7 separate regions of the Homo sapiens genome follow, and regions 2, 3, 4, 5, 6 and 7 are each linked to region 1. The links are contacts of gene promoters, found by promoter capture Hi-C in blood cells and fetal thymus (Javierre and others, 2016). All regions are on one chromosome and are shown on one strand. Each heading gives the region's core, a stretch centred on a gene start or on the middle of the fragment in contact. The rest is flanking DNA. Distances are from core to core; before and after follow the strand shown.

Region 1 (3,631 bases), core at 338-2,837:
TACACACTGAATTTTAAAGACTTAGCGCAATACAAAGAATGTAAAATATCTCATTATATCTTGAAATTATACTATTTTGGATATATGGTGTTCCCTTGGTGTCTTTGGGGACTGGTTCCAGGATCCTAGAGGATACCCAAATCCCCAGATGTCAAGTCCGCTATATAAAATGTCCTGTAGTATTTGCATATAACCTACACACATCCTTCTGAATACTTTAAATCATCTCTAGATTCCTTGTAATTCCTAATACAATGTAAATGTTATGTAAATAGTTGTTATACTATATTAAAAAGTTTTTTATTCTTTATTTTTGCTGTATTATTCTTTTTGCATATTTTCAGTCCACAGATGGTTGATGCCACAGATGTGGAACCTGTGAATAAGGAGGGCTGACTGTATTGAGTTAAGCGAAATATATTATTAATATTTCATCTATTTCTTTTTACTTCTAAAAGATGTGGCGACAAGAAAATTTAAAATTACAAATGTGGCCCACATTATATTTCTATTGGGCAGTGCTGCTCTAGAGAGTCGGCAAAAAGGGCAGAATGGAGCCTCCATTATACAGATCACAAAACTGAGCACAGGTAATTCACTCCAAAGGTCGGGGCTGGTCTCACTCTGAGCTGCGGGTTTTCTTTTCCCACGCCAGAGCTGCCTGGTGCCAGGACGAGCGTAACACGGACCCACAGTGTCCCCAGAAGGGGGCAGGCGTTCTGAGAGCCACAAAGGTGGGGTGGAATCCCTTGATGTCGACCGCCACCATCCCCCTCCCCCCGCGCGACCTCCCCGCAGAGACCTCCCCAGACAAAACAAACAAACCCTTGGGTCTGGCGAACTGCAGCGGGGAGCGGAAACCAAGGAAGATCAAAGACTCAGCGGTTACCCCCTTCCGGGCCGCGCAGTTTGGCAGCGCGCCCCGACCCGGGCGGGCACCCACGGGCCCCCGGACGAGGAGATCCCAGAGACTGGCTGATAACGGGGCGCTTTGGACATTTGTCGCTGCCTGGAGAGGGCTGGGCTCACACTGGCCCGGGGTGCGCTGGGGGCTCCTCCTGGACTCCCCAAATAAGAAACTAGAGGAGTGCGGTGGTGGGGGGCGGGTCACGGGGCGGGTAATGAACACTTTCTGCAGAAGGTAGGTCGTGGGAAGACTGGGAAAAGGCAGCGCTGCCGAAGCTTGCACCTGAGCAGCTAAGGTCTCCGCTCCCGACCTCAGTTTCCCCACCTGTAAATTGGAGCCGCCGAGTCCCGCCCTGCCCGTTTAGAGAGAACGTGGAGCGGAGGGAAGTGACAGTACAGTTAGCGATGGCCGGGCTGTTCTGTCCCAATACGCCTCCTGGACAAGCCGCCCCGCCGGGTCGCCAGCCCTGGAGCTCGGCCCCCGGCCCCAGACCGCGGCAGGGAGCGCGGACTGTGTCCCGCCCCTCCCGTCAGCGCCCCGCCCTCGTCCCCGCCCTGCCCCGCCTCCGGCCCCGCCCCCGCCGCAACCAGCCTTGCCTTTGATGCGCCGCACCGGCCAATGGGCGCGCGGGGAGGCGCGGGCCGCGGCGGCGGGCTGGGGGCTCGGCGCTCCCGGGCGTCAGTCGGGCCGCGGCGACGGCGGCAGGAGCGCGTCCCGGCGCCGCCTCGGGCTCCGCTCGGCTCGGGGGCTGCTTCGGGAGGAGGAGAGCCAAGGGAGGCGCCAGGCCCGCGGGCCGGGCGCATGGCTTAGGGACGCTCCCGGCCGCCGCAGCCCCAGCATGGGGAAACTTCACTCCAAGCCGGGTCAGTGCCCCCGCCCGCGCGCTCGCCCCGGGCCCCGCCGCCGTCGCCGCCGCGGTCGCTAACTCTCTCCCTTCCTTTCTTTCCTTCTCCCGCCGCCGCGGCTGCCGCCGCCGCCGCCGCCTCGCGATGTGCCTGCAGCCGCCGTGTGCAAGCGCAGGGAGAGCCCGGAAGGTAGGGGCGCGCGGGGCGCAGACCTCGGGGATGGACGCGGGGGACACCGCGGCCGCGGCAGAACGGCCCAGCCCGCCAGGTCTTATGACCAGGGCCACCCCGAAGCCCCAGTTCCGGCCACCGGCCCCCCAAGCCCGCTCCCTGAGCAGCCTTCGCGCCCCCTCCTCTGTCCCTCCTACCCGCTCCCCGCGGTCCTGCGCTCCCACCGCTGACCCTCAACCCCTCCCCCTCCCGCGTCCCTGCCCTCGGCTCTCACGGCACCCTCTCTTCAGACCCCCAAGCGCCTCCCCGCAAGACCCTGCCCCCTCTTCCTGCCCCCCGGCCCTTCTTCCGATATCCTGGCTCCTGCACCTACTGCGGCCCCTCTCCTGACCCCCAGCCCTCTCCTCCGCAGTCCTGGCTGCCAGTGCTCCCTGGTCTGATCCTAAACCCGTCCTCCTGGGGTACTGCTCACCCCTCTTGCCCCCTTCTGGCTCCTCGCTCCTAGGGCTTCGCTGAACCCCCCTTTACTTACCCGCGTCCCTCTCTTGGCTCCTGCCCCAGCCCGCGAACCCCCTCCTGGCCCCCGTGCCGTGGTCCTTCGCCTCCCACCGCGCCTCCTTCTTCCCTCCGCGGGGGTAACTTTTGGCACCTGGAGCCAGACTCAGGGGCTTCATGTCGTCCCCGTCCCAGGTGACAGCTTCGCCGTGAGCGCTGCCTGGGCTCGGAAGGGCATCGAGGAGTGGATCGGGAGACAGCGCTGCCCGGGCGGTGTCTCGGGACCCCGACAGCTGCGGTTGGCGGGCACCATAGGCCGAAGCACCCGGGTATGATTCCCCACCCCTGCCCCACCTCCTGGCCTCCTTTCAGCCTCAGAGATGGGTCCCCAAACCCATGCACCCCAACTTTGAGCACTTTCCTGCACAGCTTCTGGGTCTGAAAATCTCTTCTCAGCTGCCCCCTGCCCCACCAACGCGACCCTCTGCCCGCATGCCTTGGAGAACCTCGAAGTGCCCAGCTGGAGGCAGAGGGCTGCCTGGGGGAAAGGTCCTAGGTGGGGAGGTGGTGAAGGTCCAGTTGATGGGGAATCGTGTCTGTACCGGCGGGATTTGGGGGCCTGCTCTGACTTCTACCTTGTTTCTGCCACCAGCATTCAAAGGTGGAGGTGGAGTAGGGGCTAGAGAGAAGGGGGTATTAGGGGTGTCTGGGTGGAAGGCAGAGCTGTGCTGGCCCCAGGATCTGAATATGTTCTGATTGTCTGTGGCATTCATCAGTACCACCTGTACAGGAACCCCAGTAGAGCAGGCGGCCCTCTGGGTAGCAGATCTAGGGGGACTGAGACCTGGAAGACCCCTTACTTGGCATATGAGATAGAGGGCCTCATTCCACTGTAGCCTGGGCAGAGCCCTGAGCCTTCACCCCGTGTGTCTCTGAGGCTGGAGTTCCTGGAGGAGCACTAAGTGTGATGGGAATGAGTGAGTCCAGCCCCAGCTCCTGGCCTGGGACTTGGCGTTCACAGATGTCCTGTGAGCTCCGGAACTCTGCACGGGGCTTTCAGGCAGTCTGCGTGGAACTCGCGCAAGCCTAGGATCAAAGGATGAATCAACTTTTTGATGTGACATTTAATTTTTTTTTTTTTTTTTAACTTAGAGGGGGAATAGACTGAGTCTCAGGTCTGGTTAGTTCTTTGGTCTTATCCATGGGCTGGGGA
Region 2 (3,631 bases), core at 496-2,995, 360 kb before region 1:
GCCTCCCAAGTAGCTGGGATTACAGGCATGTGCCACCACACCCGGCTAATTTTTCTATTTTTAGTAGAGACGGGGTTCCTCCATGTTGGTCAGGCTGGTCTCAAACTCCCGACCTCAGGTGATCCACCCACCTGAGCCTCCCAAAGTGCTGGGATTACAGGTGTGAGCCACCGTGCCTGGCTGCTTTCTTGTATTTTATCTTGCTGTAGCGGTTGTGGGATTTTTGCCTGGTGTGTTCATTGGAGTGTGTGTGTGTGTTTTGAGATGTATGACTGTGTTGGTTGTGTTGTCATACTTTGAAGGTTCATTAATGTGCTGGTCTTTCTATTTTTCTTGTTATACTTAGTCACTTAAAAACCCTTTTTTTTTTTTTTTTGGAATTCTTATTTTTACAGTACTTTGAATTCCTGTTTTATTAATCACCTTCTTATCTGAAAGTGAAGTAATAGTGTACTTGGCACCATTGAATTAGAAAATTGTGTGTCCTTGGCCAGAAGATCACATACACAGGAACTCGATAAGTTGAGAGATTTAGCCGTTTCAGAAATGGGCATTTGTGTCTTCCAGTGGAGAAGCATCTGCAAAAGAATTGGGCAGATTTGGCCAGGCGCGGTAGCTCATGCCTGTAATCCCAGCACTTTGGGAGGCCGAGGTGGGCAGATCACCTGAGGTCAGGAGTTTGAGACCAGCCTGGCCAACATGGTGAAACCCCGTCTCTACTAAAAATACAAAATTAGCCAGGCGTGGTGGCTAACCCATTTAAAGTGGGTGAATTATATCTTTTATGTTTTAATGTATTCCTAGAGTTGTGCAACCATCACCAGAATAAGTTGTAGAACATTTTCATCAACCCAAAAAGAAACTTTGTATTCATTAGTCGTTCCTCCTCATTTCTCCCCTAACCTCCCAGCACTAGGCAACCATCAGAATACTTTTTGTCTCCACGGATTTGACTGTTTTGGACATTTCATATTAATGGAATGCACAATACAGTAGTATAATACATTAATTTTGGAAGGCCAAAATTAATGGCTTTTGATGTCTGCCTTTTTTCACTTAGAATAATGTCTTCCAGGTCCATCTGTGTTATAGCATGTATCATTACTTTATCCTTTATGTGGCTGGGTAATATTCCATTGTATGGTTATACCATGTTTTGTTTATCTATTCATCAGTTGATGGACATTTAGGTTGTTTTCCATTGACTATTAAGAGTAATGCTGCCGGCCGGGCGCGGTGGCTCACGCCTGTAATCCCAGCACTTTGGGAGGCTGAGGCGGGTGGATACGAGGGTCAGGAGATCGAGACCATCCTGGCTAACACGGTGAAACCCCGTCTCTACTAAAAAACAAAAAATTAGCCGGGCGTGGTGGCGGGCGCCTATAGTCCCAGCTACGCAGGAGGCTGAGGCAGGAGAATGGCGTAAACCCGGGAGGCGGAGCTGGCAGTGAGCCGAGATGGCGCCACTGCACTCCAGCCTGGGCGACAGAGCGAGACTCCATCTCAAAAAGAAAAAAAAAAGAGAATAATGCTGCCATCATGCTTGAGGGTTTTTTTTTATTTTGTTTTGTTTTGTTTGTGGGGGGAGCGGAGGGCACAGTCTCACTCTGTTACGCAGGCTGGAGTGTAGTAGGCTTACTGCAGCCTCCTCCGCCCCCTGGTTCTAGTGATTCTTGTGCCTCAGGCTCCTGAGTATCATGCTGCAATTTTTGTGTGAGCATACATTTTTCATTTCTCTTGGGTCAATATCTAGGAGTATCCCCACTTTTGGTTCTGAGTGTTAATTGAGCCTGTTGTGTTCTCACATTCCCTGTACTTAGATGGAAATAGTGCTTTGCCTAAAAAGAAAATAAAAGACCTGATTGTGCAGGCGAGTGAGAAAGAGAGAGAGGCGCTAGGGTTATTTCCACCCTGATACTCTTTGGGTAGTCTTGGTATGACTAGCAAAGAAGCAAGCTCCAAGTTGTAGTTTGCTTCCAAGTTTCTGGCTTCTGTGGGAATTTCTGCATCTAAGTAATGACAATTTTCAGTTACTTGCAGTAAGTAAATTATCAACCAATCTTACTGTGTATTACTAGCCTAGTAGGAATTTACTTGTATATCGAGAGGAATGCTGCAGCTTTCACCTTACTTCTAATGGGGATTAATGCTTACTTAACTTGCAGTTTTGGAGGCAAGTACAAAGTACAGGACCAATTATGGTCATGAAGTGAGAGAGAAGTCTGGCTAGTGAATGGTGATTGGCAACTCCAGTTGACTGTTCATGGCATCTTAGATCTGTGAGGAGGGAGGAGGGAAGGAAAGTTCAAGCTGGTCTTTATGGTAAGTTCTGGAACATTTCCCTGTGTCAATGGGTCATCTGTTCATTCACTGTGTAAAATGGTTGAGGGAAGTTTTAATTTACATGCTTCCTTATTGTGTAAACCTTTGATTTTTAGTGATTTCAGAGTTTGTTTTTATAATTACTTAACACGTGAAGAGGATGCAGAGTAACGTATCGAAGCTCTGGTTACCTTCCACTGGGATTTGACACATTTGATTTCCTTTATTCCCTCCTTCCTTCCCTTCCTCCCTCTCTCTTTTCTTAAGGAATGCAACTACTCAGATTCACCTGCACACCCTTGGCATACCTCTCACTCCCCCTTACCCCCACTTCCTCAGAGGTGACCTGTCCTCAGAGGCAAATGTGTGCCCTTTCCATCCGTACTTTTATGCTCTCATCTATGTTTACATCTATTAGTACACTATTGTCTGTATTTTTAAACATTACATAAATGGTGTAATTTTTACTTTTAATTCTGTAGTGGTGTTTCTCAAATTAAGTTCTGCACAAAACATTTTTATAGATATCCAGTGTTAGCTTAACGTTTTTCTTATTGTGGTAAAATATACATAAGATAAAATTTACCATTTTAGCCATTTTTAAGTTTACAAGTCAGTGGCATTAAGTACATTCACAGTGTTGTATAACCATCACCATTGTCCATTGCCAGAACTTTTCATCATCCTAAACAGAAACTCTGTACTCATTAAACAATAGTTTATCACTCCTTCCCTGCAACTAGATGCTGGCAATCACCATTCTACTTTCTATCTCTATCAATTTGCCTCTTCCATCTAAGTGGAATCCTACATATTTGTCGCTTTGTTTCTGGCTTTTTTTTCTTCTTGTGATGCTTTGTTTTAATTATGTTCCTGGCTTTCATCATCTAGCAGGCTGATTCCAAGGTTTGTCCATGTGGTAGCTTGTATCACTTTAATGTTTTTAGAGATAGTTAATATTACATTGTTTATATATACCACATTTTGTTTTTTCATTCAACCTTGATGGACATTTGAATTGTTTCCCCCTTTACCTGTTGTGAATAATGCTGCCGTGAACATTGATAACCAAATATTTGTTTGAATCTCTGATTTCAGTTCTTTTGGTTCCATACCTAGGAGTGGAATTGCTGGATCATATGATAATTCTATGTTTAACTCTTTGAGGGATGGCCAGACTTTTCCACCATAGCTAAATCATTTTACCTTCCCACAAGCAAAGTTCAAGGGCTCCAGTCTCTCCCCATAAGGTCCTTTGCACTTTTTTTTTTGAGACGGAATCTCACTCTGTTGCCCAGGCTGGAGAACA
Region 3 (3,631 bases), core at 606-3,105, 340 kb before region 1:
AGTGACACAGATAGGCTAAGGAAGGGGACTTCAGTAATCATGCAGCAATGGCCTGGAAAAGGGAGAGGCTCATAGTAGGGAGACCAGTTTGGAGGCTGCCATAGTGTTCTACTGAGAGAGAAAAAGACTTGAACTCAGAGCACGGTCAGGGAAGGTGGAGGGGCAGGGTCTGATTTGGAAGTGTTTTGTTTTTTGGTTTTGGGAACAAGGATTTGGAAACCTCTTGGCTCCGTAGATGAAGAAAGGTGAACCAAGGAAGACTGAAGTTTCCACTCAAGGAAACAGTAACTCAGGGAAGAAAACACAGGAGTAGGAATAGGTTTAAGAGAATGACAAGCAGTTGTGTTTTGGACTTGTTTAGTTCGAGGTGACATCTTTGTAGGGATGTCTAGCTGGTAGCTGCAAGTATAGGAGGAGGCTGGATGTGTGCATGAGTTTCTTGGTAAAGATCCATCTGCAGTCTCCTGAAGATGTCACCCAGATTGCCCTGCCATCACCCCAGGGCCTTGAGTCACTCGCTTCTCTTGGTGTCTAGGCAGGCTTGAAGAAAATCAAACAGTACAAAATCATGCAAATTCAGACCTCTATTCCACCCCAGAGGAAAGTCCTGCTAGCAGTTTTTGTGTATTCTTCCAGAAATTTGCCTTGCAACGCGTTTGAGTATATAAATAATCCCAGAAAGGATGGGCCAGACACTAGCAGAAACTCACCACACACACTGCACTGGGCATGCAGAAACTTTGCAAAATGTACTGGTGTGTGCTGTCACTGCATTCCTGGGTTTGGAGGTCTTCTGTGTCCCCAGCTGTCAGTATTGCCCACAGGCTGACCACTGAGCTCCTTCCACAGCCGGCCCATATCACCCTCTTTCGAAGTGTGTCTGCAAGGCTAGATTATTAGAGTAATTTAAGTGTTTCTGCTTTGTGTTTTCTTTAATGAATTTTTTTATGATGAAGTTCTTGTTTTAAAAATATACAGTGGTAATTAACATGTATGCATTTTTCTTAAAATGACCCCCCCAGTCCCTCTTCGGATGTGATCACTGTTAACAGTATCGTATATAGACCCTGTTCTGTGTGGGGCGGGCAGAGGGCTGGTTAGTGGGTGGAACATGCATACTCACAACCATATTTTTCACATGGGAAAATATAAAGGTGACAACAAATCTCCTGGACTATAATCTCATCAAGCAGACAATAATCTCTGTTTCAAAAGTGGACAAATACATGCTGATTTTTTAAAAAAAATTATAATAGTACAGAAAGATACAAAAATAAGTTAAAGTCTTCCTAACTCTCCTGCCTGTGCCCTCCACTGGGCAAAAGTCCCTGTCCCTAAGGTAATATCTGTTAACAGTTCTCCTTCCAGAAAACTTGCAATGCAAATAGGAACATTTTGTGTGTCTGCCTCTGTGTGTATGTGTTTACATGTCTTTTTTTTTTTTTTTTTTTTTTTTTTTTTTTTTTTTTTTTTTTTTTTTTTGAGACAGAGTCTTGCTCTGTTATCCAGGCTGGAGTGCAGTGGCATGATCTCAGCTTGCTGTGATCTCTGCCTCCTGGGTTCAAGTGATTCTCATGCCTCAGCCTCCCGAGTAGCTGGAATTACAGGCGCCTGCCACCACACCCAGCTAATTTTTGTATTTTTAGTAGAGATGGGGTTTCGCCATGTTGGCCAGGCTGGTCTGAAACTCCTGACATCAAGTGATCTACCCGCCTCAGCCTCCCAAAGTGCTGGGATTACAGGTGTGAGCCACTGCTTCTGCCCCTGCACATGTCTAACGCACACAAAAGAGATTCTGCTGAACACATTTTTTATGCTTTTTCTTTCCAATTTAACATATTTGACATCTTTATCAGCTTATATAGCTTTATTTTTTTAAGAGGTTATTGGCTATAAAGGGAAAGTGCTTTATGGGTGCTTCTGTTGTTATTTAATTGGATCCTGTTGATGGACATTGATATCATTTCTAAATTTTTTAGTATCCTAATTAATCCTGTGGTGAGCATCCTTATACAGATATCCTTGTTCCCTCATGAAAATATTTCTGGAGGATGGAAAGAAGGGAAATTTTAAAAATTATTTGTGTAAACATTATCGTTTGTTAGTAGAATGACCTCAGGAGAGATTGTAGTAATTTATACTTCCCCACATGCATATGAATGCCTTTTCAATATATTGTTTCAAAATTGGATATCATGAACCTTAAGAGATAAATATATATGTATGTATTTTTTTTTTTTTTTTTTTTTTGGTGGGGGCATGTCCTGTTATTGACAGTTTGTTTTGGTGGAGGGATGTCCTGTTATTGACAGTTATCGAATAGAACTTTGTCAGTTCCTTCATGTAAGGGATGAATTTGGTAATAAAACAGGTCTGACTTCAGTTATGGAACTGGGAAAGCTGGACCTTGATGTGGAGGTGGGCTCAGACATGCTGTGTCTGGGCAGGTATCTCTTGGGAAGCAGTGTCATCCCTGAACAGAAACATGGATGAGCCGCAGGGGACGGTGCTGAGCAGAGGGGCTGGCCGTGGGTCATCTGCCTCCCTTGGCCTAGAAGGCACAAGGGAGCTTTCCACCTTGCCTTTGGTTTTGAGAATGCAGAAGCTACTAAGCAACTCACAGTGTGCCCAGGGTGGTCCAGCTGAAGGATGCGAAATGGTTCTTCCTTTTCCAGCCAAAGATCTTGAACCTCCCACCCCATGACAAGCATTATAAAATTCACATAATTTTGATAGGCTGGATTCCTTTTCTGTAGCAGATCTTTCCTCAGAACAGAAGTTTGTTTTTTTTTTTTAACCTAAATTACCTGTGAGTTTTATTTTTTAAATATGGAATCTGTTTTTTGGACACCTCCTTGTCATATTAAATGTTCTGTTATTAATTTTGAGATTTTAATGTAAATTTTACCCCAGCAAATTAATTTTGTTTCTCTTGCTCTCTCTTTTTTTTTTTTTGGCATCCTTTCCCGTTGTATAGTGGTGCTCATTTTATCATACTGCTTTTATATGACTTTTCTTTTGTGAACAGGGATCTTGTTCACTTTTCCTTTTTTAAAAATTTTTTTATTTTTTTGAGACGGAGTCTTGCTCTGTTGCCCAGGCTGGAGAACAGAGGCACAATCTCAGCCCACTGCAAGTTTTGTCTTCCGGGCTCAAGCGATTCTCCCACCTTAGCCTCTTGAGTAGCTGGGATTACAGGCGTGCACCATCACGCCTGGCTAATTTTTTTGTATTTTTGTAGAGATGGGGTTTCACTATGTCATCCAGGCTGGTCTCGAACTCCTGGACTCAAGCGATCCACCCGCCTCAGCCTCACAAAATGCTAGGGTTACAGGCGTGAGCCACTGTGCCCGAGCCACTTTTCCTTTTAACATAAAAACATTGATATCCTAGAGAGGGCACTGTATTTTGGGTACATACAGGTTCAGATCACGGAAGAGTTGTATTCTATACTTTTTTTCATCATTCTTAGTTCAGTATGATGTATTTTATAATTTCATATGAGAAACTGTAACAATGGGCATGTGTCATCCAGCAATACCTACTCATAAATCATATTAAATTTTGATCCAAACATGGGAGAAACTGAAGTTTTCTCTGTGTACTTGGATGCTTTCAGAGGCATAAAATT
Region 4 (3,631 bases), core at 490-2,989, 320 kb before region 1:
CCTTCAAGGTCAGATGTGGGCAGTGGATTTAACAATGAACAGAAGCTCTCTGATAAAATCAGTCATTTTAAATGTTTGGAGGAAAATTTAAACAAACAGTTAATTTTTTGTGTGCTTCTTTTAACTCCCAAATGTTTAAATTTAGTCCAGAGAGTACTTTAACCAAAATTGTTTTTCTTTCTGAATATTGAGTATCTAAATTACTAATATGTCACATTATAACTCACGTGACTTGTGTTAGGATTCCGATGCAACACCATGCAAAACCCCGAAACAGCTGCTTTGCCGTCCGTCCACTGGGAACCGAGTAGGGTCGCAAGATGTATCCTTGGAGTCCTCTCAGGCAGTTGGGAAAATGCAAAGCACCCAAACCACTAACACATCCAACAGCACCAACAAATCTCAGGTGTGTGGAACGTGGGTTTTTAATTGTTAGTATTTGATACAAAATATTTAGAATTTCCCACATGTAAATAATATGCAGCATGGGTTTGAAGAAAACGCTAGATTGAAGAACAAACTTATTTTATTCTAAGAGGTTCCAACACATGACAGTGCTTCTAGGAACAGGATGTCCTAAGGATCCTTGTGAGACACCATTGTAACATAAATCTCTTCAGGAATCTATTGACTGGTCCTTATAAGATGTTCCAGCCAAACTACCATATAAAAAGTGTCTCAGTTGTACATGAAATAAGCTGGCATGAAGGTTTTGTGAGGCCTCATGGCAGTGTGCATATCTGGGAATAATGTATCCTTTTCTAATATTTTAATGTTCAATACCTTGTTGCTGGTGTTGAAATGATCAGCTGGCTGTCAGGCGTGGTCAGTTGATTAACATTAGCTTGGACTTAAAAGGCCACAGAGATACTCTAGTTTAAGTTTTTTTGTTGCCTAGAATTGTCATTAACTGAGTAATGACTCAGAGTGAGGGGAGGAAGCCATTGATATGGGGCTCTGGCCTAAGGCTGGGTCACTCCTCACTATAGCTGGGAACCTGGGAATAGGCCTCTTGGCTGTAACCTTGTGTCTGATTTGACTCACTGAGTTCACTTTACCTACGCGGCCTTAGCCATGTATGCCAGACACAGACTTATCACAAAATACCAGTTCAAGTGACAGGGTTGACAGAAGGGACTGAGGTCACGAGAAAGCCACAGGCCATGAGTAGCAGGAAGGGAGTAGCCACCTGTGCTGACCCAAACCTACCAGTGTGCCTGTCATGCCCAAGAGCCTCTTCCCGCTCTGTCACTTATGATGTGGTGTTTGGGTTGGTAAGTTTCTTAAGAAAACCTTTGCATCCCACACACTGTTAAGAAGGCGGGCGAGTGGTCTATGCTTTTCATTATTTCCATTAAAATAAAGTAAGGGTTTTAGAGCTAAAAAGAACCCCTGTAACAGCTTTTTCTGCCCACTAGATAAGTCAGTGATCAGTAAGGTAACAATCTAGCCAGCATATTCCTAGTTTTGAAAGCTTCCCCAAATCCAGGTGTTTGAGAACACTCTGCTTTTCTGCAATACTGATGTCTTTGTGGTCGTTTTCTGTTTCTGCAGCATGGATCAGCAAGGCTCTTTCGTTCTTCCAGCAAAGGCTTCCAAGGTACAACTCAAACAAGCCATGGTTCCTTGATGACAAACAAACAACATCAAGGCAAATCCAATAATCAGTATTACCATGGCAAAAAGAGGAAACACAAGAGGGACGCGCCCCTCTCAGACCTCTGTAGATAGTCAGCGCTGCGCGGTGGACTGTCTTCTCTGTGCAATGATCTCATGCTCAGGACAGTTGCGCAGGGACTCCTGGGAGATATTCAGGAGCCTCACACTGTTCAGACGTTGACTTAGCAACTGCGTTTTTTCCCAGCTCGCCACAGAATGGATCATGAAGACTGACAACTGCAAAAAAAACAAAACAAAACAAAAAAAAAAGCAAGCAAAAAAGAGGGAAAAAAAAGGCTGCTTATTTGATAAGTCATATGCTACAACAGGGTCATTTTAAGATTTAAAGCTTGAATGTAAAATAAATATATTTCTCATTGGCTTTATGCAGAGTTATAGGGAATAGTATTCAGTGTTGGTAGGGTGATAGAAACAAAAAACAGTATCAGAGGATGAGGTGGGGAAGGAAAACAAAGGTATCTGATAGGAAGTCCAGATTCCAAAGGGGAAAGTGATCTGTGCATGTTTTTTTTTTAAATATTTTTGCATATATTTACCATTTTATTGTGTGTATATATAGAAGACCATATAGGAGATTGATATTTGTAATAGTGGATTTGTTAATAATACTTTTTACATAACATTACTGTTTAAATTGTAAACAGATTTTTTCTCAGGATTAGTTTGAAAAATAATCTAAATTGTCATCTTAACATCCATATATAGGGAAGTGATTAGTTCTATTACTCAATTTGTTTTTCTCAGCATTGAAATGACTTAATAGAACCCTTGTGTCCTGCTGCAAAAATTTTTCCTCTCTAAAGAAAAGGTTTATGGTGGCAAATGATGTTTATTTTATTTTGTAAAAAAAAAAAAATGTACTATGTACTTTTGTGTAAACACTGAAAAATCTCTGGTCATCTCCGAGAATTAACTTGCAACTGTTTTCTATAGTGCTGTCGTCTTGGGCAATGGGCAATTACATGACTTTGTGTTTGCTTCCTTTGCAGTCTTTTTTTTTTCCCCCCATTTCTTCCTAATAGGAAAAAAAAAAAAAAAAAGGTCACCCATGTCTGGTCTCATTCCTGTTGCAGTGAAACTTCGAGTTCCACAGACTTTGCATGCTGGCTTCTCTAACCCTGTGTGCTGCGTGTGCCTGTTTCTCATCTCTTATTCTTTTTAAAATTCATGCTTAACTACTGTGGGAGAATAACTGTAAACAGCTTTAATTAAATCATACTTATAAAAAACTATTTTCTTATATTCCACTCTATGCTTTTGGTATTGTTGATCTTTACAAATTAAATGGTCTTTGATAATGGATCTATTTTGTATTGCCTTATTAAGACCAAATACTTCTTGTCATCCCATTCTTTATCCTCTTCTTTCATGGAATTGTTATCGTTAATTAAAACTTTTTTAAACATTGGCTTGTTTCAATCATACTGTAAATTTTGGTTGTAGTCAGCTTTGAGTGCAATGAGATGTATAATTCTGTTATCATTACCTGTTGAGTTTGAAACTCAGTTGGGAATATTTAATATAATAGAATGTAAGTGACATTTCTGAAAATGCTTTCTTTCAGGGTGAAAGCTCTTATGTTTAGCATCAATGTGTATGGCTCTGTTAAATGCAGCCATTTCTGAGACGAGATTCTTTTATATATATATACATATAAAGTACTATTGGCTTTTAGGAGTTTCTTTTATATACATTTATGAAATACTGAAGACCAATCAGACCATTAATGGACACTTAGTGTAACTTTTTATAAAGAAAATAATGCTAAAGTAAGACCAAAACTGATGTCATCACTGAAATTAACAATTTTCAATATGTTCATATTTTAATTCACAATGGAAAAATGTGTTCCAAAACTGGAAACTCATAGTACTCGTGTAAACTGTGGAAGATTTCAAATGTGATGTTATTTTGACAATGTTTTAAATTTTAGAGTCACATTTTATTCTGA
Region 5 (3,631 bases), core at 705-3,204, 290 kb before region 1:
TCATGTTTCTGTATGTTAGCTAACTATCTGAAAAAGAAATCAAGAAGATAATCCCATTCACAATAGCCACGCGAAAAAATACTTAGGAATAAATTCAACGGAGAAGGTGAAAGAGCTGTATGCTGAAATCTATAAAACAATGAACCAAGAAATGGAACAAGATACAAATAGATGGGATTTTATCCATGTTCATGGATTGGAAGAATTAATATCGTGCAAATGTCCATACTACCCAAAGCTATTCAATGCAGCCTTTGTCAACATTCCAGTGACTTCTCACAGAAAAAGAAAAAACAGGGAACACACCTTTGGTTTATACCAAAAGCTGTGTCTCCCTGCCCCCCCACCCCCACCCCCTGCCAAAACAAAAGAAAAAACAATTCTAAAATTCAGGTGAAACCACAAAAGACCCCAAATAGCTAAAGTGATCTTGAGCAAGAAGATCAAAGCTGAAGGCATCACACTACCTAATTTCAAAATATATTACAAGCTACAGTAATTAAAATAGCATTGTACTGGCATAAAAATAGACACATTGGGCTAGGCATGGTGGCTCATGCCTGTAATTCTAGCATTTTGGGAGGCTGAGGTGGGAGGATTGCTTGAGGCCAGAAGTTTGAAGCTAGCCTGGGCAACATAGCAAGACCTTGTCTCTACAAAAAAAAAAAAAAAAAATTAAAAATTTGCCGAGTGTGGTGGCAGGAGCCTGTCGTCCCAGCTACTTGGGAGGCTGAGGTGGGAGGATTGCGTGAGCCTAGGAGCTTGAGGTTGCAGTGAGCTATGATTGTGCCACTGTACACCAGCCTAGGTGACAGAGTGAGCCAATTAAAATATATATATATATTTATAATTTCTTTTTTATAGAGATAGGGCCATCTAAAGTGCTGGGATTACAGGCATGAGCTACCATGCCTGGCCCATAAGACTCTGTTTCTGGAAAAAAAAAAAAAAAAAAAGACGTATCAACCAATGGAACAGGATAGAGAGCTCAGAAATGAACCCATGAATATATTTACAGCCCAATGATTTGTTTGTTTGTTTGTTGTTCAGATAGTGTCTCACTCTGTCACCTAGCCTGGAGTGCAGTGGTGGGATCTTGGCTCACTGCAAACTCTGCCTCCCATGCTCAAGCCATGCCCCTACTTCAGCCTCCTGAGTCACTGGGACAACAGGTGCATGCCACCTTTGGCTAATTTTTGTATTTTTTGTAGAGATGGGGTTTCAACATGCTGCCCAGGCTGGTCTCGAACTCCTGAGCTCAAGGGCTCTGCCTGCCTCGGCCTCCCAAAATGCTGGGATCACAGGCATGGGCCACTGTGCCTGCCCAGTCCATTGATTTTTTTGACAAAGATGCCAAGGACCCACTATGGGAAAAGGATAGCCTCTTCAATAAATGGTGTTGAGAAGACTGGGTTTTCACAGGCAGGAGGATGAAATTAGATCCTTACATATAAAAACCAACTCAAAATGGACTGAAGACTTAAACATAAGACCTGAAACTATAGAACTACTAGAAGAAAATATAGGGAAAAAGCTATGTGATACTGGTCTGGGCAATTATTATTATTATTTTTGACTCCAAAATCTCATGCAACAAAAGCAAAAATAGACAAATAGGATGATGTCAAACTTAAAAGCCTCTGCATGGCAAAGAAAACAGGTAACAGAAGAGACAACCGATAGACTGGGAGAAAATATTTGCAAGCCAAACATCTGAAAAGAAGTTAATATCCAAAATAGATAAGGAACTCAATAACAGCAACAACAACAACAAACCCAATTAAAAAATGGGCAAAGAACCTGAATAGGCATTTTTCAAAAGAACCCATGCAAATGACCAACAGGTATACAAAAAAATGTTCAACATTACTAATCATTAGGGAAATGCATATTAAAACCACAGTGAGGTATCATCTCACACCTGTTAGAATGGCTATTATTAAAAAGACAAGAGAAGCCAGGCGTGGTGGCTCACGCCTGTAATTCCAGCACTTTGGGAGGCTAAGGCAGGAGGATTGCTTGAGCCTGGGAGTTTGAGACCAGCCTGGGCAACATAGGGAGAACCCATCTCTACAAAAAATAAAAAAACAAGGCAGGTGTGGCAGCGTGCACCTGTAGTTCTACCTAGTCAGGAGGCTGAGGTGGGAGGATCACTTGAGCCCAGAATTCAGAGGCTGCAGTGAGCTATGATCACATCACTGCACTCCAGCTTGGGCAAGACCCTGTCTCCAAAAAAAAAGAGACAGGTGTTGGAGATAATGTGGAGAAAAGGAAACCCTTGAGCACTGTTGGTGGGAATGCAAATTAGCACAGCCATTATGGAAAATAGTAGGAACCTCCCTTCCTTCCGCTTGTGGGTACATATCCAAAGGATTTGAAAGCAGCATGTCAAAGAGATATCTGCACTCCCATAATCATTGCAGCATTATTCATAATAGCCAAGATCTAGAAACAAGTGTCCATTAATGGATGAAGAAAATGTGACATATATACACAATGAGATACTATTTAGCCTTAAGAAAGAAGGAACAACATGGGTGAACCTAATGGACATTACACTAAGTAAAATAAGCTAGGCACAGAAGGACAAATACTGCACGATCTCACTTATGTGTGGAATCCAAGAAATCTAGGCTGTGTGCGGTGGCTCATGCCTGTCATCTCAGCTCTTTGGGAGGCTAAGGTGGGAGAATTGCTTGAGGCTAGGAGTTCAAAACGCATGGGCAACATAGCACCCCACCTGTACAAAACAAAACAAATGCAAAAGACCACCACCAACAAAAAAATCCAATTGAACTCAGAAGCAGCAAGTGGAAGGGTGGTTACCAGAGGCTGTGTGTAGGTAAGGGGGGCAGGGGTGGGATGGGGAGAGATAGAGAGAGGTCAGTCAAAGGATACAAAGTTTCAGTGGAGGAATAAGTTTTTTGAGACCTATTGCACAGCATGGTGACTATAGTTAATGTACATTTCAAAATTACTAAGAGGGTAATTTCAAATGTTTTCACCACAAACAGTGCTAAATACTTGAGGTGATATGTTAATTAGCTTCATTTCATCATTCTCCATTGTATATATGTAACGTCACCTTGTATCCCATAAATATATACAATTATAACTGATCAATTTACAATAAAATTAAAAAAACAAACATTTTACCACACATATTGCTAAACATTAGCAGTAATTCTTTAAGATCGTAACTATCCATTCGGTGTTCAAACTTCCAATTGTTTTGTAAATGTCATATATATATATATTTATATTTTATATATTAGATTTATCTTTTTTTTTCTTTTTTTGAGACAGGGTGTCTGTTGCCCAGGCTAGAGTGCAGTGATGCGATTTCGGTCCACTGCAACCTCTACCTCCCAGGCTCAGGTGATCCTCCCACCTCAGCCTCCCTAATAGCTGGGACCACAGGCATGCACCACCACACCAGGCTAATTTTTTTGTATTTTTTGTAGAGACAGGATTTCACCACGTTGCCCAGGCTGGTCTCGAACTTCTGGACTCAAGTGATACGCTTGCCTCGGCCTCCCAAGGTGCTGGGATTAGGGACGTGAGCCACCGTGCCTGGCCTATATGTTAATATTAGCTTTTTAAAATCAGGATCCAGAGCCAGGCATGGTGG
Region 6 (3,631 bases), core at 773-3,272, 280 kb after region 1:
CGAAGTTTTGTTTGTGAGAAGGTTTTAAACAATGAATCAAATTTCTTTAAAAGTTATATGAAAAGCTATTTCTTGTCAGATAAGCCCTGGTAGTTTGTGTCTTTTAAGGCTTTTTTCCATTTCATCTAAATTGTCAAATTTGTTGGTAAAGTCACCCTTAATATTACCTCTTTAACATTCTGATTTCCATAGGGTCTATCGTTGTGTACCTGCTTTCATTCCTAATATTGGCAATTTGTGTTTTCTGTCTTCTTTCTTGATCACTGTCTAAAGGTTTGTTGATTTTATTGACCTTTTCAAAGAACTAGGTTTTTGCTTTATTGATTTTTCCTATTTTCTCATGTTTTATCTTACTGATTTCTGTCCTAATTTTTATTTACTTTCTTCCATTTTGGTTTAATTTTCTCTCCTTTTTTTTCTTTCTTTCTTTTCCTTCCTTCCTTCCTCCCTTCCTTCCTTCCTTCCTTCCTTCCCTCCCTCCTTCCTTCCTTCCCTCCCTCCTTCCCTCCCTTCCTTCCTTCCTTCTTCTCTTCTCTTTCTTTTCTTCTTCTTCTTCTTTTTTTTTTTTGACAGAGTTTTGCTCTGTCACCCAGGCTGGAGCACAGTGGTGTGATATCAGCTCACTGCAACCTCCACTTCCTGGGTTCAAGCAATTTTCCTGCCCCAGCCTCCTGAGTAGCTGGGATTACACGTGCGTGTCACCATGCCTGGCTAATTTTTGTATTTTTAGTAGAGACGGGTTTCACCACATTGGCCAGGCTGGTCTCAAACTCCTGACCTCGTGATCCACCCATCTCAGCCTCCCAAAGTGTTGGGACTACAGGCGTGAGCCACATTTTTCTAGTTCCCTAAGGTGGAGGCTGAAGTTATTAATTCGAGATCTTACTACTTTTCTAATGCCAGTACCATGGGGTCTATGGAGTCACATGGTCCAAGCTACAGAACTTGTAGCATAGCCTGGACCTGCTGCAGAGCCCTCTCTTGCTTTGAGCCTCACTTAAGACTAGCATGTTTCCTTACAAGTCATTGAATGGGCAAGAGCAGTATCCCCCAGTGTTGGAGTATGCGTCCTTCAATTCGGACTGGTCTACCAAGCACTGGGGATTTTTCCTTAGTGGTAGGAATTGCACAGTACAATAACTTTACTTTATTTTGGAGGGGATTGATATTATTTGCATGCATGTGCCCACCCAAATCTCATGTCAAATTGTAATCTCTAATGTTGGAGGTGGGGCCTGGTGGGAAGTGACTGGATTGTGGGGGCGTATTTCTCATGAGTGGTTTAGCACTATCCCCTTGGTGCTGTCCTCATGACAGTGAGTGAATTCTCTCGAGATATGATTGTTTAAAAGTCTGTGGCACCTTCTCTCTCTCTCTCTCTCTCTTCCTCCCTGCTCTGGCCATGTGACATGCTTGCTTCCCCTTCTGCTTCTGCCATGATTGTAAGCTTCCTGAGGCCTCCGCAGAAGCTGAGCAGATGTTAGCACCATGCTTCCTGTAAAGCCTGCAGAACCATGAGCCAATCATACCTCTTTTCTTTGTAAATTACTCAGGTTCAGCTATTTCTTTACAGCAATACAAGAATCACCTAATACAGGGATGCTCCACTGCTGCAGACCACTGGCCCCTAGAAACTTTGCTGATACATACCTGGGATTTCTTACTTCCCATCCTTTGGACAGCATGTATCTTACCCAGGCATCCCGATGACTTGTCTCTTCTTGCTCATCTGATCCAATTAACGTATCATACAGGGAAGTAATTTCAGCTCACTGCTGAAATTGATACAGGGAAGTAATTTCAGTTTCTTTGTGAAGTGTCCAGATTGCCTAGGTCACATTATGGACTACATTATGGCAGAAATCAGAATTACCATATTCCAGGGCAGGATTATCAATATATGCTATTATCCATTGGATGTAGATGCAAACAGCTTCTGATCCTCATTTGTGATGGGCACGTGTAGTGGGTTAAATGATGCACCTGCCCCCACCCCACCAAAGAAAAGATATGCCCACCTGGAACCTAGAACTGTGGACTTATTTGGAATAAAGGTCTTGGCAGATATAATTAAATAAAGGATCTCAAGATACGATCATCTTGGATTAGGGTAGGCCCTAAATCCAATGATAAATTTCCTTATAAGAGAAGAGAGAGGAATACATACAGGAGAGGACAGAGATTGGAGTGATGTGTCTACAAGCCAAGAAATGCCAAAGACAGCCGGCAGCCACCAGGAGAGGAAGGACTCTTCCCTAGAGCCTCCAGAGGCAGCCTACTGACCCCTTGACTTCAGACCACTGGCCTCTAGAACTGTGAGAGAATAAATTTCTGTTGTTTTAAGTCATTAAGTTTGTGGTAATTTGTTATGGCAGTCCCAGGAAACAAACAACAGTATTGGAAAGAACACGTTTGGCAGATCAGAAATAAATTGCAAACCACATAGCTGAGGTTGTGTTAGTCTGCTGTAGTAAACAGACCTCCTTTGGCATAGGAACTGCAATTCAGCCACCACTTCGTTGATCCTTTCGTCCATCATCTGCAGTGAGAGCTCTGGCATCTCAGCTTCATTTAATGAGGGCCAATGTGAGCTTTTTCCAAGCTTCTAAGAGCCATCCCAGCTATGTATTAGACCCATCCCTGGAAGCCTCGCCGGGGTGTTAAATTCCATGGCAAAGGAGAGGGCTCCCTTGTCAACAAATGTTCCTTTATTCAGTGATAAATTCTGTCCACCTTGACCCAGCATCCTCAGGATCCACTCCTGGGCATGCCCTCCCAGTCCTGCCAGGGCATGTCCACTAGTACCTGCAGAGTCTTTTACTTAGAAACTTTCCCATTCCTAAGCAGGCCTCACACAGTTGACTCATGCTGAGACTTGGCCCTACAGATTAGACTGGTGGCGGGGAGAGGAGGTGACAGCAGATACGGAGGAGGCCAGTGCTGCTTTATAAAAATCCTCATTTGGGGCTTCTTGGATAGTCTCCTAACAGGGTGGACAGGCCGCTTCTGCAGACCCAGAGGACCCAAAGTTCTCAAGTACATGTACTCAAATGCACTTACCCCAAGTTCCAGATTCCTGCAGCTTCTCCATCAGAGGTCTGACTTTGGTGTAGAAAACTTGCCTAGGCTTAGAATTAGAATTTAAATTTCCTTAAAGTTGCAACTCTTATCCTTAAGTCCTTTCCTCATATCCTTAAGGCCAGGGCCTGGGAGCCAGCTGTCTGCCTCCCCAGCTGTGGGAGATGAGAGTTTCTATAATGCTGGCAATGGGGCTCTCAGACCCTCATGTTTTGCTTCACATTGTGATTGATGGCCCTGAGTCTGTCTTTTCCTCTTCTTAAGGCATGATTGGCATTCACTGGTGGGCACCCAATTCTACAGTCTTTATAAGAACTCTTTTTCCCATACCTCTCAAACATCAAAGCTCTTGCACAGGGCAGTGCACCTTTTCCACCTGTATCCCATGCCCTGGGTGTATTACAGGTAGAATCTTAGCAACAATCACTGCCTGCCATTTACCACTGTACACTAAGCACCGGTGATGGGGCTATGATTTCTAGCCATCTAGGGACTTCAGAATCCTATCCTTCTCATCTATTTCCTAGGATCACTCCTGGTGCCAAATATATTA
Region 7 (3,631 bases), core at 835-3,334, 260 kb before region 1:
GTGGCTTTGGAGTTCAGACAGGACCCATGCGGTGTGGGTGAGGGAGTGACAGGGAGGCAGGGCTTGCCTTGAGCTAAGGGAGGACTCAGGGCCAGAAAAAGTGCCCAGTGATGGAGGAGACTGCCCTGAGAGGTGGTGAGCCCCCCCGTCATGGAGGTGTGCAAGCTAACAGCAGGGTCATTCAATCCGGGAGCCCTGGATTGGATGTGTCTCAGACATGGCAGAAGGATTCCTTTATCCAGGGCCTTGTGGGGAGGCCCTCCCTGTTGCCAACTGAGTCGAGGGCTGGTGGAAGAACTGGTGATTGGACAGGAGGCCTTGAAAACTTCCCGGGCAGGGGGTGCCTCTGGGTCTGGCTTTGGCGGGGTGGCTCCTAGGGAGGAGCTGGCCTGGGGACATGCCACTGGTGGTGGGTTCCTGGGCCCCCTCTGGAGATGTGATCAGTGAGTTCATTCCCCCCAGGCCTCACGGTGCCCGGCTTGTTCCAGGAGCTGGCCAAGGTCCCTGGATGGGCTGAAGTCCTTGTGCCCATGTTGTCCACTGTCCACCTGCGCCTGCCTGCCGTTGCCCAGAAAGTGGCCTAATGAGTTCCTTGAGAGGCGTGTTTACCAGGCCTGTGTTCCCACGGGCCCTTGGGACTCTCTCAGCTGGTTCCTCCCTTTCCTCGTGGTGGCCCAGCCTGGCTTTGTGTGCCTGGAGCGGGTGTGTCCACACACTCTCACACTTGCACTTTCATGCACGTGTCTGGCCGCCTCAGCTCTGGTCTGGGGGCTTTGCCTGGGAGATGGAGCAGTTGTGGGGAGTGGCCTCAGCCCTCTGGTGTTTGGAGCTTCTCAGCCTGGCTGTCCTGGTGCACTGGTGTTTGGCAGCAGGCCAGGGGTCAGGTGGGTTTGCTGTTTGTGTGCTGTGGCATCTGGCTCAGTCCCCCGGGATGTCAGTGGGCAAGCCTGGGCTGAGGAGCCCTGGTTTGGGAGCTGGCAGACCTGGGTTTGCATCCCAGCCTATCTGTCCACCAGCTCCAGCAGTGTGATCTTAGGCAACCACTCTGCCTCTCTGGGCTCAGTTCTGCATCTGTGAGACGGTGGTGCCACCTTGGCCTTTGCCGGTTGTGAAGATGAGAGTGAATGTGTGTGCAGGTGCCGGGGGTGACAGGAACTGCTGCTGTTATTACTGCAAAGGGCTATTTTGGGGTGGGGGGTGCTGAATTGAATGTATCTCAGGCAGGGACCTTATCTTGTTTGGCAACCCCCACAGCACAGGGTTGGATGTATATGGTTAGCACACAGTAAATGCCTCTTGTGGAATACAGACTGATTAGTTTAGATTTAGAGGTTGTAAACTAGTGGGCTGCAAATATTGAAAAATTTGAAATCAGCTGCCAACATTTAAAAATCATCATTTCACGTAGAAATCAGATTTGTAGCCTGTCTGAGCACTTTGGGCACTTTGACAGCTCTTGGCCACATCCCTGAAGGGTTGCCCCTCGTTGAACAGGTGCCAAGGCCTGTAGACACCTGCCCAGGCACTGAAGGGGATGGGGCCCCCAGCAAATGACCCCTTCCTCCTTCCCCAAATATGTGGTTTTACCATTTTGTTCCTGGTGTGTGGTGATGGAATAGGAACTTCCAGAGGAAATAGAGCCTGAGGTGGCTCCTGGAATTGAGGTGGCCCCAGGGATCTCATACTAGCAGGTGCTGGTTGGGGACTTGGGGACCCTGGATATCCTGCTTTTTGCCTTTGGGGGCTGGGGGCTCACCTGGCCATCTTCCCTCCGCTGGACCAGCTGTCCTTTGAAGCTTCTGCTGGCGGCTGGCCATTTGTGCCCTGTGACTGCTCTGAGCTGTCCCGTGTCTCACAGCCTCCCTGCCCTCTGCCTCTGGCCCTGTCCTGGTTCCAATCTGAGGCAGGCCTGGAGGACACTGGGGGCGTGGACTCTTGGTCCAGGGTTGCCCCCTTCATGCAAGGTTCCTGCTGGGAATATGGCAGCTGTCCCCAAGTCCCCATTGCTGTGTGAGGGATTGCACAATTTTGGTAATTTTCCTACCTTTGGAGACTGATGGGGATCCCTGGGGAGAGAGAGCCCAGACTAGCACACAGGAGATATAAGGGCTGGCAGGCGTAGGTGTGATTCACAAGCCTTTTTGGAATCAATGAATATGCTAAGGAATGAATGGTGCTGGGGAAAGAAGGAACCCATATGGGCTGAGCATGGCAAGTGTGGGGTCAGCTCACAGTGTTGTCACAAAGGGGCCACTGTGTCCCTCTCTGAGACTCAGCTCCCTTTTCTGTGAAGCACGGCTTGCAGACATCTGAAATTTGTATCAGTGGGCTATTTAAAAAAATAAACAAGATTTTTGCTGGGTACAGTGCCTGAAAGCTTAACACTTCGGAGGCTGAGGAGGGTAGATTGCTTGAGCTTAGGAGTTCAAGACTAGCCTGGGCAACATGGCAAAACCCCATCTCTACAAAAAATACATGGCCTACTGCAGCCTAAGTCTCCCCAGGCTCAGGTAATTCTCCCACCTTAGCCTCCTGCATAGCTGAGGTCCCAGCTACGCAGGAGTCTGAGGTGGGAGGATTGCCTGAGCCCTGGGAGGTTGAGGCTGCAGCGGGCTATGATCACACCACTTCACTCCAGCCTGGGTGACAGAGTGAGACCCCATCTCAAAAAAAAAAAAAAAAAGAGAGAAAGAAAATGCAGTTTTATGTGGAGCTTACTGTAACACAGATGCAGGGGGCTACCCTGGCTGAAGCAGGCATGGGGGCCTGAGCCTATGCCCCCCCACCTTCCCTTCCCATTGGGGGCCTGATGCATGTCCCCAAATCTCAGGGCTCCTAGGATCACAGCTTGGAACCCTCTGTGCCTGGAGGCATGAGACTCACTGGAAAATGAAGTGAATGTGGTGATTGCACCAGGACCATGGGGACAGAGCAGAGCCTGGAAACAGACACCATCTGTGTGTGATCACCTGACTTATGACAGAGGTGGCTCCACTGAAATTCAGAGAGAGGATGGCCGGTTCACTGAACACTGCTGGGATAATTCAATATCCATATGGAAAAAAGAAGTGAACCTTGATCCCTACCTCACACCATACCCAGAGTGAATCGAAATGGATCAGAGACCTTTGTGTGAAAGCAAAACAGTGAAACATGCAGAGCAGAGCTGGCCTGTAGAAGCTTCTGTGATGATAGACATTCTCTGTTTATCTGTGCTGTCCAGTACAGCAGCTGCATGTAGCCATTGGGTATTTGATTTTTTTTTTTTTTTGAGATGGAGTCTCACTCTGTTGCCCAGGCTGGATGCAATGGCACGATCTCAGCTTACTGCAAAATTTGCCTCCCAGGTTCAAGCCATTCTCCTGCCTCAGCTTCCCGAGTAGCTGGGATTACAGGCACACGTCACCATGTCCGGCTAATTTTTGTATTTTTAGTGGAGGGGGGTTTTACCACGTGGGCCAGGCTGGTCTCGAACTCCTGACCTCAGGTGATCTGCCTGCCTCGACCTCTCAAAGTGCTGGGATTACAGGCATGAGCCACCATGCCTGGCTGGCTGTTGAGTATTTGAAATGTGGCTAGTGTGACTGAGGGACTGAATTTCTAATTTTATTTTAAATTAATTTAAATTTAA

The links. The method cuts DNA at HindIII sites, captures the fragments that hold promoters and counts their contacts. A CHiCAGO score of 5 or more calls a contact.
Region 2: a fragment that was not itself captured here is called in contact with the fragment with the promoter of NKD1 in region 1 in 4 of 17 cell types (total CD4 T cells, naive B cells, non-activated CD4 T cells and 1 more); the score reaches 6.9 in total CD4 T cells.
Region 3: a contact is called between a fragment that was not itself captured here and the fragment with the promoter of NKD1 in region 1, in 7 of 17 cell types (non-activated CD4 T cells, activated CD4 T cells, naive B cells and 4 more). The highest score is 12.7, in non-activated CD4 T cells.
Region 4: a contact is called between a fragment that was not itself captured here and the fragment with the promoter of NKD1 in region 1, in 5 of 17 cell types (total CD4 T cells, activated CD4 T cells, non-activated CD4 T cells and 2 more). The highest score is 9.5, in total CD4 T cells.
Region 5: a fragment that was not itself captured here is called in contact with the fragment with the promoter of NKD1 in region 1 in 2 of 17 cell types (non-activated CD4 T cells and naive CD8 T cells); the score reaches 6.8 in non-activated CD4 T cells.
Region 6: a contact is called between a fragment that was not itself captured here and the fragment with the promoter of NKD1 in region 1, in 1 of 17 cell types (non-activated CD4 T cells). The highest score is 5.7, in non-activated CD4 T cells.
Region 7: a contact is called between a fragment that was not itself captured here and the fragment with the promoter of NKD1 in region 1, in 6 of 17 cell types (naive CD4 T cells, non-activated CD4 T cells, total CD8 T cells and 3 more). The highest score is 6.6, in naive CD4 T cells.

Annotation. Positions count from the first base shown.
Region 1 is chr16:50,546,809-50,550,439 of GRCh38, forward strand. NKD1 (NKD inhibitor of Wnt signaling pathway 1) reads left to right here and starts at 1,588. Exons shown (of 10, transcript NM_033119.5): 1 at 1,588-1,770; 2 at 1,909-1,941; 3 at 2,614-2,747. The coding sequence starts at 1,746. RefSeq lists silencers at 1,231-1,680, 1,721-1,910. The HindIII fragment of the contact is 5,196 bases long and covers 1,181-3,631 here.
Region 2 is chr16:50,183,162-50,186,792 of GRCh38, forward strand. All of the region lies in intron 1 of TENT4B (terminal nucleotidyltransferase 4B), which reads left to right. Among named protein-coding and RNA genes, the nearest start is that of TENT4B, 32 kb to the left of the region's middle. RefSeq lists enhancers at 816-1,378, 1,379-1,940. The HindIII fragment of the contact is 4,375 bases long and covers 1-3,631 here.
Region 3 is chr16:50,204,127-50,207,757 of GRCh38, forward strand. The region is part of intron 1 of TENT4B (terminal nucleotidyltransferase 4B); the gene reads left to right. Among named protein-coding and RNA genes, the nearest start is that of TENT4B, 53 kb to the left of the region's middle. The HindIII fragment of the contact is 6,724 bases long and covers 1-3,631 here.
Region 4 is chr16:50,227,598-50,231,228 of GRCh38, forward strand. TENT4B (terminal nucleotidyltransferase 4B) reads left to right here. Exons shown (of 12, transcript NM_001365324.3): 11 at 242-406; 12 at 1,555-3,631. The coding sequence ends at 1,731. Among named protein-coding and RNA genes, the nearest start is that of ADCY7, 37 kb to the right of the region's middle. The HindIII fragment of the contact is 534 bases long and covers 1,473-2,006 here.
Region 5 is chr16:50,254,466-50,258,096 of GRCh38, forward strand. It overlaps a transcript of ADCY7 not described here. Among named protein-coding and RNA genes, the nearest start is that of ADCY7, 10 kb to the right of the region's middle. RefSeq lists an enhancer at 1-218. The HindIII fragment of the contact is 8,884 bases long and covers 1-3,631 here.
Region 6 is chr16:50,828,075-50,831,705 of GRCh38, forward strand. No RefSeq gene overlaps it. Among named protein-coding and RNA genes, the nearest start is that of LINC02128, 10 kb to the right of the region's middle. The HindIII fragment of the contact is 1,155 bases long and covers 1,446-2,600 here.
Region 7 is chr16:50,283,764-50,287,394 of GRCh38, forward strand. All of the region lies in intron 1 of ADCY7 (adenylate cyclase 7), which reads left to right. Among named protein-coding and RNA genes, the nearest start is that of MIR6771, 7.0 kb to the right of the region's middle. RefSeq lists an enhancer at 171-672. The HindIII fragment of the contact is 581 bases long and covers 1,795-2,375 here.